2 separate regions of the Homo sapiens genome follow, and region 1 is linked to region 2. Evidence: promoter capture Hi-C in human tissues and cell types (Jung and others, 2019). All regions are on one chromosome and are shown on one strand. Each heading gives the region's core, a stretch centred on a gene start or on the middle of the fragment in contact. The rest is flanking DNA. Distances are from core to core; before and after follow the strand shown. Region 1 overlaps NSD3 (nuclear receptor binding SET domain protein 3). Region 2 holds the start of BAG4 (BAG cochaperone 4).

What was found. The method cuts DNA at HindIII sites, captures the fragments that hold promoters and counts their contacts. A contact is called where the count stands out against the background at its distance.
Region 1: a contact is called between a fragment that was not itself captured here and the fragment with the promoter of BAG4 in region 2, in 1 of the 25 tissues and cell types used here (hippocampus).

The regions. Positions count from the first base shown.
Region 1 is chr8:38,374,875-38,380,600 of GRCh38, reverse strand. All of the region lies in intron 1 of NSD3 (nuclear receptor binding SET domain protein 3), which reads left to right. Among named protein-coding and RNA genes, the nearest start is that of NSD3, 4.5 kb to the left of the region's middle. RefSeq lists an enhancer at 2,088-2,589. The HindIII fragment of the contact is 6,266 bases long and covers 1,109-5,726 here.
Region 2 is chr8:38,174,808-38,181,459 of GRCh38, reverse strand. It overlaps BAG4 (BAG cochaperone 4), which reads right to left and starts at 4,605. Exons shown (of 5, transcript NM_004874.4): 1 at 4,321-4,605. The coding sequence starts at 4,590. It overlaps LSM1 (LSM1 homolog, mRNA degradation associated), which reads left to right and starts at 4,967. Exons shown (of 4, transcript NM_014462.3): 1 at 4,967-5,185. The coding sequence starts at 5,140. RefSeq lists enhancers at 3,663-4,002, 4,913-5,062, 4,284-5,141, 5,473-5,562, 5,142-5,999. The HindIII fragment of the contact is 1,071 bases long and covers 3,718-4,788 here.

The DNA of each region.
Region 1 (5,726 bases), core at 2,992-5,491, 200 kb before region 2:
TGAGCTGCAGTGTAAATTTAACCCATTTAATCAATTTAAAACTAGATTTTTACTAGCTGAAGGAATCATTACTACGCTTACATATCAAACATGATCGTGAAGTCTTTTACGTATTGAAAATTCGTTTGTTTCGGAAGCCTCAGAAGCAGTCAACATGTTTTCTGCAATTCTTTAAGTAAACAAGGAAATTGCATCGGTTATTTTACTTGGGCCTGTGCTCTTGGCAAAGCGCTGTGTCCGGGTGAAAGGGGTAGGAAGCTCTGCTTGTGGTAGATTATCGGCTTGCTGTATTTTGAATGTTGAAAAATTAGAAATGTATGTATTTTTAAATAGTATTTCTGATAGCTCTTGCTTATAGGTGATGAGCGTGTTAAGTGATGAGTGTGTTAAGAATAGTATTTTCTTTTTTAAATAAACTCTCTTTTCCCCATCTCTTCTCTTTGCCTTCATGTAGCTGGCTCAATACAATCTCCAGATGCCAGTTCAGCACAGTGCAATGATCTGTGAAGTAGGCATGCAGTTCTTAGAGTCTCATTGAGATGCCAGGGTTTTTTTGTTGTTGTTTTGTTTGTTCGTTTTTTGATTGAAACTTCAGTTGACTCTCAGGAAACTACAGTAACTAATATATTCAACTGTAACTACTTGTACAATTTGAAATAATTACTATTCTAAGGTTTAAATCCTGACAAATTTACAGAACATACATTGGTGTTAAGTAGAGCCTATTTTATTTCATATTGGATTAAATGTGTGTGTGACCTTTTGTTTTTATTATAGCAGTTGGAGTAATCCAAACTTTAACCTATCACATTGATATTGAAACTGTTCTCTAATACCAAGAAGGCCTGTTAACATTGTAATATGGTGGACTCAAACCAGTTGAACTACATTTAACCTACCTAAATGGCAACATCCTCTCAGTTGTTATACAGAAGCTTAGGATATATTCTTGGTTTGTTAGAAAAATGAAATTGAATGTTGTTAAAGTGGTACTTTGTAAATCTGGCTTTTACACTAAAAGCACCCTCTCAGCTTGTAGTATTTTAATTTGATAATATTCAGCCTGAATTTGTTTGAAATTCTGTGAGGAACAGTTGCATTAAAAAAAAAATTCAGCATGCTTTTTCTGGAATTTATTTTTATGGCAATTTAAGTTTTATATCTCCTACTTGATTGACATGTTATTTGTAATTAGCTGGTAAATTGTGTGCATGAGCTATCAGTGCTGCAAATTTTTAGGAAAATAAGCAATCATTAAATAGAAAAATTTGTGTTGGAAGCTTTCATTGCTTAAAAAAAAAAAAAAGAAAAAGTTTATTTTTATGTATGCAGCATCCTTTAAAGATCAGGGTTCCTGCCCAGCTGTCATAAGTATCCTGGTTCCTTGGACAGGTATTCATATACGAAGAAGCCTACTCTTGTTAAATAACACTTATAACCAATTAATATGTCCATCAGCCCACCTGTTACCTGTGTTGGCTTTTTTTTTTCTTTTTTTCCCTAACCCTTAAATTAACAAATGCCGTCTCTTACACTGATCAGATTGAATGAGTTTTGGATAAAGGAAACTGTCTTTGAGATTGGTGATTGTTGAGTGAACTGTCAAATCTGATTCTAATGACAGCGTTTCTGGAATTTATAATAATATTCATAATCCACTAATAGCTGCTCACAGTTGTCCTCACACTGTGCTATGCTGAGTGTCTCACATGCATGATTTCCTTTTATCCTCCTAACAGTTTTATGAAGTTAGTACTTTTTTTTTTTTTTTTTTTGAGAGATGGAGTCTCACTCCTGTTGTCTAGGCTGGAGTGCAATGGTGCGATCTCGGTTCAATACAACCTCCACCTCCCAGGTTCAAGTGATTCTCGTGCCTTAGCCTCCCGAGTAGCTGGGATTACAGGCACACGCCACCATGCCCTTCTAATTTTTGTGTTTTTTTGTTTTTGTTTTTGTTTTGAGACGGAGTCTCGCTCTGTCACCCAGGCTGGAGTGCAGTGGCATGATCTTGGCTCACTGCAAGCTCCGCCTCTCGGGTTCACACCATTCTCCTGCCTCAGCCTCTGGAGCAGCTGGGACTACAGGCGCCCGCCACCACGCCCTGCTAATTTTTTGTATTTTTTAGTAGAGACAGGGTTTCACGGTGTTAGCCAGGATGGTCTCGATCTCCTGACCTCGTGATCCACCCGCCTCGGCCTCCCAAAGTCCTGGGATTACAGGCGTGAGCCACCGTGCCCGGCCAATTTTTGTATTTTTTTTAGTAGAGACAGGGTTTCACTATGTTGGCCAGGCTGGTCTCAAACTCCTGACCTCGTGATCTGCCCACCTTGGCCTCCCAAAGTGCTGGAATTACAGGCATGAGCCAACACGCCCGGCCAAGATGGAGTTTGTTTGTTTGTTCGTTTGTTTGTTTTGACACGGAGTTTCACTCTTGTTGCCCAGGTTGGAGTGTCTCAAAAAAAAAAAAAGTTATTCACATATTCACATATTACAGAAGGCTAAGAAGTTAAAAAAATAAAGTTAGCATTCTTCTCCACTGATAACCACTTGAAGTTTCTTGTATGTCCCTCTGGAAAACTTCTATGCATGTATGTGTATATTTCTCTTAAAATATTTTCAAATGGATCATACTATCTGCATTTTGCTTTTTTGTTTTTTTGTTTGTTTTTTGAGATAGTTTTGCTGTTGTTGCCCAGGCTGGAGTGCAGTGGCGCGATCGTGGCTCACTGCAGACTTCACCTCCCGGTTCAAGCGGTTCTTCTGCCTCAGTCTCCCGAGTAGCTGGGATTACAGGCATGCACCACCGTGCCGGCTAATTTTTGTATTTTTAGTAGAGACGAGGTTTCCCAAAGTGCTGGGATTACAAGCGTGAGCCACCGCACCTGGCCACTTTTTCATTTTAACAGCCTATCTGGGACATCTTTTTAAATTAGTACCTATGAATCCACGGCTGGGCGCAGTGGCTCACGCCTGTAATCCCAGCGCTTTGGGAGGGAGGCTGAGGCGGGCGGATTGCTTGAGGTCAGGCGTTTGAGACCAGTCTGGCCAACATGACGAAACACCCATCTCTACTAAAAATACAAAAATTAGCCAGGTGTGGTGGCGGCGCCTGTAATCGCAGCTACTCGGAAGGCTGAGATGGGAGAACTGCCTGAACCCCGAGGGGGAAAGCCGCAGTAAGCTGAGATTGCGCCACCGCACTCTAGCCTGAATGACAGAGCGAGATTCCGTCTCAAAAACAAAACAAGGCCAGGCATGGTGGCTCACGTCTGTAATTCCCGCACTTTGGGAGGCTGAGGCAGGAGGATCACTTGAGGTCAGGAGTTTGAGACCAGTCTGGCCAGCATGGTGAAACTCCCGTCTCTACTAAAAATACAAAAATTAGCCGGGCATGGTGGTGCGTGCCTGTAATCCCGGCTACTCCGGAGGCTGAGACAGGCCAATCGCTTGAACCCAGGAGGCGGAGGTTGCACTGAGCTGAGATTGTACCACTGCGCTCCAGTCTGGTAGGCAAAGCGAGACTCCGTCTCAAAAACAAAACAAAACAAAGAACAAAAACAATAAAAATTAGTACATATGGATCCACAGCTTTTTTTTTTAAAGAGTCTTGTAAGTATTTCATTGTTTAAAACATCGATTAACATTTAGTTTGTTAGCAGGTTTTGCTATTATAAGTAAATAATAGTTGGTCCTGAATTAAGTTCCTAATAGCCTGTTAAATGGAAGAGAGATAGTACAACTACTTTATTTTAGAAGAGAGAAAACTGAGGCCTATGGAAGTGAAGTCTGGGGCTTTTTTGACAAACCCGTTACTTGGTTCTTTACAGCACAACCTATTACTTCCTTAAAGTATTGGAGCTGCCTGGCCGGGCGCAGTGGCTCACGCCTGTAACCCCAGCACTTTGCGGGGCCAAGGCGGGTGGATCACCTGAGGTCAGGAGTTCAAGACCAACCTGGCCAACATGGTGAAACCCCGTCTCTACTAAAAATACAAAAAATTAGCCGGGCCCGGTGGTGTGCGCCTGTAATCCCAGCTACTCTTGAGGCTGAAGCAGGAGAATCGCTTGAACCCAGGAGGCAGAGGTTGCAGTGAGCTGAGGTCGCGCCATTGCACTCCAGCCTGGGCAATAAAAGCAAAACTTTGTCTCAAAAAAAAAAAAAGAAAGAAAGAATTAGAGCTGCCTATGAAAACTCAAGGTGAGGGGGCAAACTTAAGGTTAAGTATATTTAGTAGAAAGAGTTAAAGGGGAGTAAGCTGCAGTGAGGCAAGAGATCTTGTATTTTTTCATATTTTATTCACCATGTTGTGAACATATATGCATAAAATATTTTTACATGCAAAAATGAATTGTGTCCAAGTTATCTTGAGGTGTGTGTTTTTGTATGAAGTGGATTTTAGTGGACTTTTTCTTGTTTGAATAAAATTATCAATAAAATAAGATAGCGATGAAACGAAAAAAATTAGAGGTCCATCATGGTCTTAGAAAAGGACCTGGAAAAAAAATAGAGACATTGGTAAAAATTTTAAAGTGAGCTAAAAATCCCTATTTGAAAACAAGTTAAAAATCTTAGCATGGACTGTTGCTTACTTTATTTAATTTTTTTTTTCTATCAAGAAGAAAATGGGTTACTTATTCATTGGGATCTTTTAAAACAAAAAGATAGTCTTGTCTGTTGTAGATACTTCAGAAATTAAAATTGTTAAAACTTTAAAAATGCTTAGAACTTGGCATCTGTCCATAAAATCTGTTTTTCAATGCAATTCTGTTTTTAGTTTTACTTTTTTTTTAAAAGCAGTCTATTATTTTTTGAAAAAGCAACTAAGATGATTCATTTATTTGTTAATAAACATGTCCAGCATTTGAGTTTTTAAATGAATGGTGAACTTTATTTCTGCAGGCCAATCTTTTTATGAATTATATTTATAAGTTATAAATAATTATACTTATATTGTTATATTAACAAGGACAAATGTAAGAAATTGCTTATACTAACATTATCTAACCTTTTTTTAAAAAGCTTACAGTTTTGTTTTCATTTTTACTGTTGCTGTTAGTAAATATGTAATAAAGACTTTAAACACTTCTGTAGTATGTTGTACCTGCACTGTGTAGCATGAAAAGAAGGTAAAGGTATATTTTAAATTTTGTGGACTTAGAGAATGTTCAGTTTTTACCACATGGATGTGTTGTTACTCCTAAAGCACAACTTTTTTGATAAGATTTTGAATTTGAAAAAGCTCTTTGAAAAAGTATTCTTAGCTTGTTTTTTTAGATGTGGATCTTTATCGTCATTAACTGATCTACAGTGATAACTTTTCCCCCTTCTAATATTTAATTACTAGGTTCTTTTTTCCATCTACATTTAGGGCTACTTAGAGCAAGTGACTAGGAAAATGAAAATTGTTAATATTCATACTGTTTCAGTTTTAGCCATGTGTAGCATGGAAAGATAAAACATGAATAATACCTTACATTTATGTGGCATCTTCTGAGGTGTTTGGTAGAATTCCCACAGAATAACTTGGCTTTTTAAAAATGTGAAGTTAGAAAGCACAAGAATTATTATTTATTTATTTATTTTTAAATTTTTTTTTCGAGACAGAGTCTCCCTCTGTTGCCCAGGCTGGAGTGCAGGGGCGCGATCTCGGCTCACTGCAAGCTCCGCCTCCCGTGTTCGCGCCATTCTCCTGCCTCAGCCTCCCGAGTAGCTGGGACTACAGGCGC
Region 2 (6,652 bases), core at 3,356-5,855:
CAGCCTAAAGTTTTACTCTAAAAAAACATAGGGAGTGGCCGGGTACCAAAAATACAAAAGTAGTCGGGCATGGTGGCGGGTGCCTGTAATCCCAGCTACTTGGGAGCCTGAGGCAGTAAATCGCTTGAACCTGGGAGGTGGAGGTTGCAGTGAGCCAAGATGGCGCCATTGCGCTCCAGCCTGGGCAAAAAGAGCAAAACTCCGTCTCAAAAAAAAATTTAAAAAAAAAAAGGCTGGGCGCGGTGGCTCACGCCTGTAATCCCAGCCAAGGCGGGCGGATCACGAGGTCAGGAGATCGATACCATCCTGGCTGACACGGTGAAACTCCGTCTCTACTAAAAATACAAAAAAATTGGCCGGGCGTGGTGGCGGGTGCCTGTAATCCCAGCTACTCGGGAGGCTGAGGCAGGAGAAGGGCGTGAACCCAAGAGGCGGAGCTTGCGGTGAGCCGAGATCAGGCCACCGCACTCCAGCCTGGGTAACAGAGTGAAACTCGGTCTCAAAAAAAAAAAAAAAAATAGTGATAGATTTCTAATTTTTTCCCTGCCATACTTAAATGTGTTAATATAGTCAAGTCTGTGTTGTAGTTCAGTACATCATCTAAATATAATCAGTTCTATAGAGCAATGCTTCTGAAATATTAATGTGCATATGAATCACCTGGGGATCTTAATAAATTGCAGCAGTAAGTCTGGAAGAGGAGAGATTTTGCATTTCTATCAACCTCACAAGTGACACCGAGGCTTCTAGTCCATGGACCACACTTTTTGAGTAGCAAGGTTATAAAAGGTTCCTATACTGTTTGTTTTTTTAATTTGACAGATGTATACTATAAAAATGCAAAACATAAAAAAAAGTCAAAATAACAAATCTGGAAAAAACATTGCAACATCTGTGACAACATGCATATCTTTTTTTTTTTTTTTTTTTTTTTTTTGAGACGGAGTCTCGCTTTGCTGCCCAGGCTGGGGTGCAGTGGCATGATCTCGGCTCACTGCAACTTCTGCCTCCCGGGTTCAAATGATCCTCCTGCCTCAGTGCCCCTAGTAGCTGGGATTACAGGCATGCGCCACCATGCCTGGCTAATTTTTGTGTTTTTAGTGGAGGTGGGGTTTCGCCATGTTGACCAGGCTGGTCTCGAACTCCTGACCTCAGGTGATCCACCTGCCTCAGCCTCCCAAAGTGCTGGGTTTACAGGCGTGAGCCACCACGCCCGGCCAACATACATATCTTTGGTATGAGTTTTCTATTGCTGCAGAAAAATTACCATCCTATACTTTTAAAGTTTCAGAATCATCAATCTGAAAGATAGTACAAACTATTAAAATGGTTTACAAATGCCCATTACACATTTCCACCTTTATCTCCAACTACTTCAGCACCATCACCCACCCTGTGGGCACAAATGTACTCAAACCACACCTGACAACCCCTTACACAATGCTAAAATCTTAACTTCTTTAGTCTATCCAACCCTCCCTAACTCTATGCCAGAAAACAGACTTTGGTTTTGATAATACAGCAGGCCCAGCAAAAGTCAGTCATCAGTTTAGAGGTCCTCTCCTCTTTCCCCACTTCAACTGATTTTTGGTCTAATTTGGCCAAGCATTTCACCATTCTATAGTCCCATGACCTATGTATTCCAGATTTAGGCTGAGAAAATATGGATCTTTCTTTCTTTATTTTTTTTTTTGAGATGGAGTTTCGCTCTTGTCTCCCAGGCTAGAGTGGAATGGTGTGATCTCAGCTCACTGCAACCTCCGCCTCCTGGGTTCAAGCGATTCTCCTGCCTCAGCCTCTCGAATAGCTGGGATTACAGGCGCCCGCCACCATGCCCAGCTAATTTTTGTATTTTTAGTAGAGACGGGGTTTTGCCATGTGGGCCAGGCTGGTCTCGAACTCCTGACCTCAGGTGATCCGCCTTCCTTGGACTCCCAAAGTGCTGGGATTACAGGCATGTCACCACACCCAGCTGGATCTTTCTTTAATTTATAATTAATCTTGGCCGGGCACTGTGGCTCACACCTGTAATCCCAGCACTTTTGGAGGCCGAGGCAGGAGGATACCCTGAGATCAGGAGTTCAAGACCAACCTGGCCCACACGACAAAACCCCGTCTCTACTTAAAATACAAAATTTAGTTGGGCATGGTGGCAGGCGCCTGTAATCCCAGCTACTAGGAAGGCTGAAGCAGGAGACTTTGACCCCGGGAGGCAGAGGTTGCAGTGAGCTGAGATTGCGCCACTGCATTCCAGCCTGGGCGACAGAGCAAGACTGTGTCCCAAAAATAAAAAATAAAAATAAAAAATAATTTATCACTGCTCCATGTTTTTCTCATACAATTGTTTACACTGTGATATAATCAACATACTATAAACTCTACCCTTTTAAAATGTACAATTCAGTAGTTTTTAGTATATTCAGAGTTGTGCAACCATCACCACTGATTTTAGAACATTTCTTATTTTTTGTTTTTTATTTTTTTATTTTTAGAGACAAGGTCTTACTATGTTGCCCAGGCTGGTCTCGAACTCCTGGACTCAAGCAATCCTCCAGCCTCGGCAACTCAAAGTGCTGGGATTACAGGTGTGAGCCATCTCACCAGGCCCTGATTTTAGAACATTTCATTATCCCAAAAAGAATATTCTCACCTACACCGCCAGTCCCCCAACCTCTGGCAACCATTAAGCTTTCTGTCTCTAGATTTACCTACTCTGGCCATTTCATATAAATGGAATCACACAATATGCAGTCTTTCTGACTGACTTAGCTCACGTAGTGTGATGTTTTCAAGGTTCATTCATATTGTAGCATGCATCAGCAGTTCATTCCTTTCTAAGGCCAAATAATACTCCATTGAATGAATATATTAACACCATATTTTGTTTATCGATGCATCAGTCGTTATGTCCTTACAACATTCCTGTATTCGAATAAAGAACCAGGGCTCCAAGAGGTTCACTCACTTTATAACTCAAATAATAAAATGACATTTGGGGCCGAGCGCAGTGGCTCACGCCTGTAATCCCAACACTTCGGGAGGCCGAGGGGCAGGGGAAAGGGGGATCACTTGAGGTCAGGAGTTCAAGACCATCCTGGCCAACATGGCGAAACCCCGTCTGTACTAAAAATACAAAAATTAGCCGGGTGTGATGGCCGGCGCCTGTAATCCTAGCTACTCGAGAGGCTGAGGCAGGAGAATCGCTTAAACCGGGAGGCGGAGGTTGCAGTGAGCCGAGATGGCACCACTGCACTCCAGCCTGGGCAACAGAGCGAGACTCCAACTCAAAAAAAAAAAAAACAAAAAAAACGACATTTCTACTTTTTGGCGATTATGAATAATGATGCTATGAACATGGGCGGACAAGCTTTATGTGAACATACGTTATCAGTTTTCTTGGGTATATAGCCAGGAGTGGGCTTGCTGGGTCATAGACTAATTCTAATGCTTAATGTTTTGAGGAACTACCAAACTATTTTCCACCATTTTACATCCCCACCAGCAATGTACGAGAATTTCACTATTACATTTTCAACAAATGAGGATAATTCTTGAACGAACAGAGAGGTATGCTGCCACCGCAGAACGACAACCCACTACCCAGAAGACTGTATTAACAAAGCAGAAGTATATGTCCGGCAGGAAAACGGAGAATAAAATGTTGCAGGTCCAAGTGTATTAGGCAAGTGAGTTAACCTCGCAGAGCCCCGGTTCCTTATTCGAAAACAAAAAAAAGGGCCGCTGTAATGCCATTTTACCTTGCAGTCGCCGTGAAAATTAAATCAGTCAATCCGCGTAAAGGTACTTTACAACACTGATTATTCATGATTCGATCTCAGGCAAGGCATTAGGGGCAAACAGCTAAATGCCCAGATCCCTCCTCCTCGCAAAGGTTCCTTCCCCTCGGGAGGGTCCCTGAGCGGCATCGGGGGCTGCAGCCACTTCCCTTCCCCGGGAGAGCCGGCCTGCCAGCCACGCAGGATAAATTGCTAGAGCTGGAGCAGTAGATCCGTGCCACCCCTACCCAGCACCGCTCCCAGGAGAGAGATCTGCAGCCTGCTGCTAAGCTTAGTAAGTCCGCGCAGGATCTTTCTTTTTTAAATGGTAATAAACATATTTTTTGGGGTCGAAGCAGAAAAGGAGGGGCAAAGGGAACACAAGCATGTCCCCCCAACCTCTGATCTTAGTCTCGGTCTCTCCAACACCCCCCGCAACACACCCTCCTCCACATAAGGAAAACAAGTATGAAACCCGATCCTTTACGAACCCCAGCCCCAAGGGCCCTCACCTCCCCGCAAGGACAGAGGGTGCAAAGCTTACCTGGTGGCTTCCTCCGGCTCGACCAGGCTCTGGCCAGGCGCCTCCCGAGGGATAGTAGCCATCGCCTCCTCCGCCTTCTCCCAGCCAGGTGGTCTCCGCCGGGCCGCCCCCGCGCACCCGCCAGGAAATGGGAGGCTGGGGAGGTTCAGGGCGAAGAGGATATAAGGGTGGAGGTGGGTGTACCGGCACATCTCCACCCCCAGGCCCGTAGTAGCGGCCGTAGGACGGACCGTCACTGGGGCCGTAGCCCGAGCGCCTCAGGGCCGACATGGGATCCGCTGCCCTGAAGCGCTTCCCGCCCCGCTCCCCACGGCCGACCCATCGCGCAGGCGCCCGCGGGCGATTGCGAATGGAGAGCAGCGAAGGGGGTCGGACGACGCCAGCCAATCCCAGGCCCGGGCCCGCCCCTTCTGCTGCCGAACCCCGAAAGCTGAGGGACGGAGGTCAGTGACTCTGGGGTCTCGGGAACCCGGAGACGAAGGAAGACACCGTGTTCCTTAAGAGGGAGTATACGTTTCCTCGCCATTTATCCAATGGAGTTTCCTCTTACCTACTTAACAGGAACAGGGAAAGGGTGTCCCCCAACGGTACGGCTGCCCCGCCTCTTCCTGGGGGCCCACACGTGTTACAGGAAGTGGGTAAGGGTAATATGGAGGAGCTTCCGGCAGCCCCCGGCGGCTGAAAGCCGGGGCAGAAGTGCTGGTCTCGGTCGGGATTCCGGGCTTGGTCCCACCGAGGCGGCGACTGCGGTAGGAGGGAAGAGGTTTTGGACGCGCTGGCCTCCCGCCGCTGTGCATTGCAGCATTATTTCAGTTCAAAATGAACTATATGCCTGGCACCGCCAGCCTCATCGAGGACATTGACAGTGAGTAGTTTATCTCCTCCCGGTGGAGCCCGGGGTTAGACCCTTCCTCCCGGGCGGGCGCCTCTTCCGAAGAAGCTTGTAGAATGAGTCCCGGGCGGGGCCGGTGTGTTCTGAGCTCAATCCGGGCGTTCCGCGTCGATGTCCTCCACAGCTGCGGTACACACCGCTTGCCCACCCAGTAGCCTGCTGCTACTTCTGCCCCTCGCAGCCTCCGCCAGCCCTCTAGCTGGTGAGCCCCAAGCGATGGAACTCATTCTTGCTTCCGTGGATCGCGGCAGCAGAGGCCCGAACACGAAAGAAGCCCGGGGAGGGGGGGGGCTTCTCCCCCGTCCACTCCTGCCTGCAGTATTTCGAAGTATCAGCGTGTTACCGGTGGATGGATCGGAATACCTAGAGAGAGGATTCATTAAAAAGCGAAAATATTAAGACAGCGGCAGTTGGACTTAATTGGCAGTAAATGTAGGCGCTCTACGGTGTGGCCATTTGCTAGCTTATTTTACTGTGAGGGTCATTAGCACCTTCAGGTTATTGTAGTAGAGACCACTGTTAGACATGGTATTGACTTTTCTGGAAAGACCAAATCACTTGCAACCTTTTTTTTTTTTTTAAGACAATTTACTTTTGCTTTTACTAAGAAGACCTCCCTTATTCCTGGTTTTTGTCCGGAAGAGGAGCTCAGTCCTATACAAAAGCGAAAAGAACCGTCTGCAGTTGTTCTGGCTTTCCTTTTTTCTAAATTCCGTCTGTGCATTATTCCTCAAGCAACATTTTTTATTGTTTTAATCATGTGATCTTTCTCATTAACTTGTTTCAAGATGATTTACACATAGTTTTAAATAAGTTGCAATCGTCTCAGTTACTCTGTGAATACGCAATTTAGAATCTATGGTTAAAATTTCATTTTACGGGCCTGGCGCGGTGGCTCACGCCTGTAATCCCAGCACTTTGGGGGGCCGAGGCGGGCAGATCGCCTGAGGTCGGGAGTTCAAGACCAGCCTAGCCAACATGGTGAAACCCCGTTCCTACAATTAGCTGGGCACTATGGCGGTGCCTGTAATCCCAGCTACTCGGGAGGCTGAGGCGGGAGAATCGCTTGAACCCGGGAGGAGAAGGTTGCAGTGAGCCGAGATCGCACCATTGCACTCCAGCCTGAGCGACAGAGCAAGACTCCGTCTCAAAAAAAAAAAAAAAATCATTTTATGGTTGACAGATCTTTTTTCTTTTCTTTTCTTTTTTTTTTTTTTTTTTTGAGACAGAGTCTTGCTCTGTCGCCCAGGCTGTAGTGTGCAGTGGCGCGATCTCGACTCACTGGAACCTCCACCTCCCGGGTTTAAACAATTCTTGTGCCTCAGCCTCCCAAGTAACTGGGATTACAGGCGCCTGCCAGCACGCCCAGCTAATTTTTGCATTTTTTGGTAGAGACGAGGTTTCGCCATGCTGGGCAGTCTGGTCTCCAACTCCTGACCT